2 separate regions of the Homo sapiens genome follow, and region 1 is linked to region 2. The links are contacts of gene promoters, found by promoter capture Hi-C in blood cells and fetal thymus (Javierre and others, 2016). All regions are on one chromosome and are shown on one strand. The core of a region is centred on a gene start or on the middle of the fragment in contact, and the rest is flanking DNA. Distances in the headings are between cores, read along the strand shown. Region 1 overlaps MBNL2 (muscleblind like splicing regulator 2). Region 2 holds the start of OXGR1 (oxoglutarate receptor 1).

What was found. Contacts are between HindIII fragments. The CHiCAGO score rates a contact against its expected background, and 5 or more counts as called.
Region 1: a contact is called between a fragment that was not itself captured here and the fragment with the promoter of OXGR1 in region 2, in 1 of 17 cell types (monocytes). The highest score is 5.6, in monocytes.

What each region holds. Positions count from the first base shown.
Region 1 is chr13:97,367,117-97,370,233 of GRCh38, forward strand. The region is part of intron 8 of MBNL2 (muscleblind like splicing regulator 2); the gene reads left to right. Among named protein-coding and RNA genes, the nearest start is that of RAP2A, 65 kb to the right of the region's middle. The HindIII fragment of the contact is 4,464 bases long and covers 1-3,117 here.
Region 2 is chr13:96,992,931-96,996,202 of GRCh38, forward strand. OXGR1 (oxoglutarate receptor 1) reads right to left here and starts at 1,546. Exons shown (of 4, transcript NM_001346194.2): 1 at 1,368-1,546. The HindIII fragment of the contact is 5,494 bases long and covers 1-3,272 here.

The sequences.
Region 1 (3,117 bases), core at 435-2,934, 370 kb after region 2:
ATGAAGAGTCATGGGTGCCGCTGAACTCACAAAGGCTGGATATAACTGATGAGGAGCATTTAACTCTGTTGGTTTAATGCATGTGCCAGTGAGACCATGGATGTACTATTTCGTAGTGACAGCCAGCTGCTATTTCCTACTCTGTGGTCACAAGCTGATTGTATCCGTGACCCTAGCCTCCCAACTTGCAAACATGTGCTCCTAGCCACAAGGAGACAGCGTGAGGGTGAGTGAGCAGAAACTCTCACCTCGCCTGGAAGAATACTTCATTGCGCATGCCCTCCCTTCACAGAAGAACAATTTTGGTTTGGTTTTTAGTTTCATGGGTTTTTAAAAATAAAATCAGCTCTGCTAATAAAAGATGACAAGGGATAAAAGAAATTAGGGGAAATCGTGTTGGGGGATCACGGCAGTCCCAACCCGCATTCTGCAGGCTGGGAGGGCTGAGTCATGCTGCTTTCCACATTCAAGTGAATCCACGATTCCAGCTCTGCAGATTTCATCCCTACAAAGAGAGGCGTGAGTGGACAGGAATGCAGGAATAAAAGTTAAACCCCGTGACAGTGCTGACTGTGGCCTCAGCATTGTGACAGAGCAGGAGAGAGCAGAGAGTGGGGGAGGGAGGGGAGGCCGAACAGCAGTGCAGAGGCAGGTGTCAATCAACTGAGGACGATTCTTCAGCAATTCACTCCCACCTCTAAAATGCCAACCGGTCCTCTAAGGAAAACCAACCCAGCTTCGAAACAAACAGAACAAAGAACAGGCAAGGATTAGTTCCTTAGCTGGGAAGATGATGATGATGATTATTATTTAATGTGGGATGGGAGAAGGGAGTGAGACTGTTTGCATCTTTCCATTATTAGGTCCAAAGCTCTTCTCAATCACTCATTCTTAATAGGGAAGCTGGATACCTGTTTCTTTCAAGTCTGAAGTCCTGCCTCCTTGAACTATGTTTATGTGATTTTTGACCCAATTTTTATTACAAAGTCCTTTTATAAGAAAACAAGTTTGGACTGAGTGCAGTGCCTCATGCTTGTAATCCCAGCATTTTGGGAAGCCGAGGGAGGAGCATCACTTGAGCCCAGGAGTTGGAGACCAGCCTGAGCAACATGGTAAAATCTGGTCTCTACAAAAATATGAAAAAAATTAGCCAGGCACGGGGTGCCATACACTGTAGTCCCAGCTACTTGGGAGGCTGAGGTGGGAGGATCGCCTGAGCCTGGGGAGGTCGAGGCTGCAGTGAGCCATGATCATGCCACTGCACTCTAGCCTGGGTGACAGAGTGACACCCTGTCTTAAAATAAAATAAAATAAAATAAAATACAAGTTTGAAGTATAATATAGCAGTATTTGTTACAGTGAAATTCTATATGATAAGTTTAGCCTTTTGGGCACTTAGAGATCTTTTTTAAGAAAGGAAAAGAAGCCAAGATAAAGAAATAGTTTGGAGTTGTAGGATAAATTATTTTAGCATAATAAATATTTGACCATGTGTCATATATATTGTTCAAGCCTAGTGATTCTTTGGCTCCATTTAGTAGAAAAAAAACTTTGAGAGAGAGATTCCATAGGTATATTCAAGTTTGTGTGTGTGTGTGTGTGTGTGTGTGTTCGTGTCTGTGTATGTGTGTGTGTAGGGAGGCAGAGGTTGGAAGCATGGAATATTCAGAAGCTAAAATATATCACTTTCAGGAAGGGTGCGAGTGGAAAAGGAAATAAGTTGAGGTTTCAACTTCTTTAATTGCAAGCATAGCTGAACTCTGATTTCAATTTAATCCAAAGAAATGTAATTAAAGGAGTACCTGACAGTAGCTTCAAGAATCCTATATTCAGTGTTTTGCAGTTTATCAGATGTAATAGTTGCTGCTGGATTGCACTTAAATGATGAAGAAGAGAAATCCTTTAGCAGCTCTTGATGCAGGTCTGCTTGCAGATAAAAACCATGGAAAAATAAATAATAGTGAACACAAATTTCCAGATATGATATTCTTTATGTATTTTCAATAAGTTTCAAAGAGCAAAGCATCAGCAAAAGACCTTGGCAATTATTTTAGCATCCAGTCATAGGAAACCCAGGGCTTGGTAATGACTGAAATAACAAGTTATCATCTTGTTAAGATTTCACTCTTTAAACTCAAATAGAATCATACCCACGTGGATTATGTAAGTCATTTAAACATAATGAATCTCAGTTTCCTCATTTGTGAAAGGAGGAGTAGAACTAGATGCCCCTGGAGTCCCTCTCAGCTCTGAGATTCAGTGAACCAAAGGTTCAGTGACTATTATTTTAGGCCCAAAGCATGAGATTACAAAGATAAACACAAACAGAATGAAAGTGAAACTAATGATTCCAGAGTTCGATGACCGATAAGCACCCTGCCTTCTTTTCTGTCTTTAACACAAAATATAGTGGGATTTTGACAGATTTTTTGTTAATTTGATCAATTCAGACTGTCAGTTCAAATATTTAAAATCTCACAGGCATTTGTAATTAGATACAAGTCATTGATTGAAGAAAGAGGATAGATGAAAACATCCCATGACAGCTTCTTAGGTCTAGTGCTATTTACACATTACCCCACGGGGAGCCAAGCTGAACAAGCCACTCTATCCTCAGGCTGAATCAAGGTGCCACCAATAAAAGTTTTCACTGAATTTAGACTGGTGGTTTGAGATTAAATAAAGACAGAATCCAAATATGTTTGGGAAATATAAAATGTTTTTTGATTATTTAGCTTTGGGAGCAGATAAGGAAACAAAAATACAACAAACAGATTTACTAAGCACTATTTTCTGTTTCAGTTAAGGTATTTGGGCCTTAATAGACAAATTATACCTAATAGTAATAATATTATTATTATAAACCTCTTATTATGTGCCAGGTATGATTCTAAATGGTCTCTCTCATGTAATATATTACATATCATCATATATTCTATTATATACTATGTAAGACAGGATAGTTACGTATAGATGTAGACACTCAATTCTTAACAATAGTTTTATGACATGGGTACAATGATCATCATCCCATTTGATAGATGGTAAAACTGAAACAAAAGTTAGCTACCTCAGCCAAAGTCAGACAGCTTCTAAATGGTCTTGCTGGAGTTGAAA
Region 2 (3,272 bases), core at 296-2,795:
GAGTCCTTGGAAGCTCCAAAGCTGGGGTCACTTTGGGTTGTCAAAAAGAAACTTAAGTAGACCTTTCATTCACAAAGACTTACTTCGATTTCCCAGTCTACATATTTGAAAACTAATTGTACTTCATACTGGTGGAAAAGAGACCAATTCTTAAAACAGGTAAATTTGTGACTGGGTAAGTGCTGTCCTCCCTGGTCCCTGAAGGAATCTTTCTCCCCAACCCTTCTGGGAGCCTCAAGGCTCTTCCCTCAATCCCCACTTTATTGTTTTTTGTTTGTTTGTGTTATTATTGTTGTTGTTGTTTTGGAGACGAAATCTTGCTCTGTCGCCCAGACTGGAGTGCAGTGGCCATGATCTTGGCGCACTTCAACCTCCACCTCCTGGGTTCAAGGGATCCTCCTGCCTCAGCCTCGGAGTGGCTGGGATTACAGGCCCGTTCCACCACGTCTGGCTAATTTTTTGTATTTGTATAGAGACAGGGTTTCACCAGCCTGTTGGCCAGGCTGGTCTCGAACTACTGACCTCAGGTGATCCACCTGCCTCAGCCTCCCAAAGTGCTGGGATTACAGACGTGAGCCACACACCCGGCCAATCCCCAATTCGTTAAATAAGAATCTGCAACTCAGTTTCCCTGAAGACTATTAAGAGGTCATGTTGATGCAGCCCAAAGATATGGTTTTGCCTATTTATTCTTCGGGAGAAACAAATACAACTTCTGAGAGCTCGCTTCAGAAAAATGCATGCATGGACACGCAAATATTATACATACAAGTTAGAGGTTTAGAGACCATTACAAGCTAGTTCACGAATCCATAGCAACGAAACAAAAAACAAGACAGAGAAGAAAGACATTTCAGGGGAAACATTTTCCTCGCTTGTTGGGGGTGGGGGTGGGGCAGAGTCTTTGGTCGTTTCCAACACCACACAGTCCACCACGATGCAGGGTGAGCTTTGAGAACATTCAGCAGGGCGGTGATCAATGGGGTGAGGGATTAACTCTGTTTGTCTCCTAAGCACTCTCCCTGCCCACCTCCCAGACCCCTCACTTGGGTGTGAAAAAAAGTGTGAGATGAAATCAGAGATCCCTAACTCCCCCAGTTCTCTCCAAGTCAAATGTCTTCTCGCCCTGGGCTTTTTGTTCCCTAAAATGAAACTTCGCCTCCCGCCACAGGATCTGGGGTGCTCCTGCTGCCTCCAGAGAAGAAGGGGGCGCTGCTCCGTCCGACCCTGCCTGCTGCAGGGACGTGCGGGGGTGCTCTTTCCCCTGCTCCTCGGGCACCTCCCGTCTCCCTCCGGGTCAGGGCAGGGTCCCCTATACCCGCTCCCTCCGGCCGGTGGGCCCCGCTCCCCGATCACGCGCGGCTCACCTGGCAGCCCCGGCGAGGCGGACATGCGCCCAGCGTGCCTGTGCAGCCTAGTTGGTCCCGGACCGCAGACCTGTCCCGGGGAGGCTGCGCACCGCCCCGCCCCTCCCACCCCTCCGAGGCCCAGCGAGCAAGTGCGTGTTCTCGGGTCCTCGCCCCGAGCAGCCTGGCCAGCAGCATCCCGCCTCGCCCACTTCCCAGTAGACACAGGGACAGCGGCTTCCACTCCCGGGACCTCTGGACATCCTCCATCCCGGTTTGGCGGGAAACTGACCCAGGAGAAAGTGTTTGCAGAGGTTCCAAAAAACCAGCCCGGCGGGAGGGTTGTTGCCCCAGGAGGGTTGTGGCCGCCTTGTCTTGGTCCAGAAATTTCACCACTCTCCTACAGCCCAGTGCCTCTTTTTTTTTTTTTTCTTTTGAGAAGGAGTCTCGCTCTGTCGCCCAGGCGTCCAGTGCCTCTTATTTAGCGTGGGATGGAGGCGACTTACTGAAGCGTTGTCATTTCCCTGTATCCAATTACAACCCTGCCCTCCAGCGCTTAGCAAGGTGGCTTAAAAATAGTTTCTATCCCTGCAAAGAGCGTTTGTCTGTATCTCCAGATCTAGGGAGTAGGTTGCCTTCTTGCTACATAACTTAGGATTCGCCTTTTCTCTTCTCTGAACCTCAGCCACATCGTCCAGTATACTAGCGCCTCCCGAACCGTTGAACTTCAAGATCTCTTCCAGCATCAAAGAGTTCACTGTATTAGCGAATGGGGGTGCTTGGAGAATGCCCCTCTTCGCTCTTCCATGGACGGGCATTGAATGTCTCTTCTGCACTTCCATGTTGATGGGCATCAAACACCATGTATAGCCCATCCTCTGGGAATGCCAGCCAGCAGGAGCAAGAATGTTAGGTTAGGTGTCCCACCAGGGCCCAGGTGGAAAGATTCCGCCCTGGCTGATGGTTGGGATAGCCCTAGTTAGGCATTTTTATTATCATGCTTATCATTTTGATTATTTGAATTCCAGCCTCTCCAGGAAAATATTTTGCATTAGGAGAAAAAATGTTCTCTAATTTTACTATGTTTAATCATTTTTTCAATTCTTCATCTGGAAATAGTTGACCCTGTTTTGTTCCCACCTATGCATTGATCAGACATTTGCTGTTTGATTATTCTGTGTCAAGCACCGTGGAGATATTGAAGAATAATACATAATCTTTGCTTCCAGGAGCTGATGTCTTATAGGAAAACAAGAAATAAATTAAAAACATGATTAGGGCTTGCCACTTGTAAATAAGGGGCTGGGAGGGGACTAAACCCAAATGAAGGCTTTCTGAAGTAAAAGACATCCCAGTGTTTTTCCATGGTGAGCAGGATTTCCAGCTAACGAGGAAATGACTTAAAGAGGTTATTTGAAAAACAAGTACTGGGTCCTAGAACTCTAGACATGGAAAGGACATTTAAAAATATCCAGTCCTGTAAAGTTAAAATTGTGCAGGTGCTATGGAAAAAAAAAAGTATAATGGTTCCTCTAAAAATTAAAAATAGAATTATGACACAAGCCAGCAATTCTGCTTCTGGGAATATACCCCAAAGAATTGAAAGCTGAGACTCAAACGGATACTTGCACACCCATGTTCATAGCAGCATTATTCACAATAGCCAAAATGTGGATGCAGCCCAAGTGCCTATCAATGGATGAAGAAAATGTGATGTATACATTCCATGGAACATTATTCAGTTTTAAAAATGAAGGAAATTCTGACACATACTGCAACATGGAGGAACCCTGAGGACATTATGCTAAACAAAAGAAGCCAGCCACAAAAGCACAAATACTGTACGATTCTGCTTATATGAGGTGCCTGAGTTGTCAAAGTTATGGAGACAGAAATTAGAATAATGGTTGCCAGGAATTGTGGGGA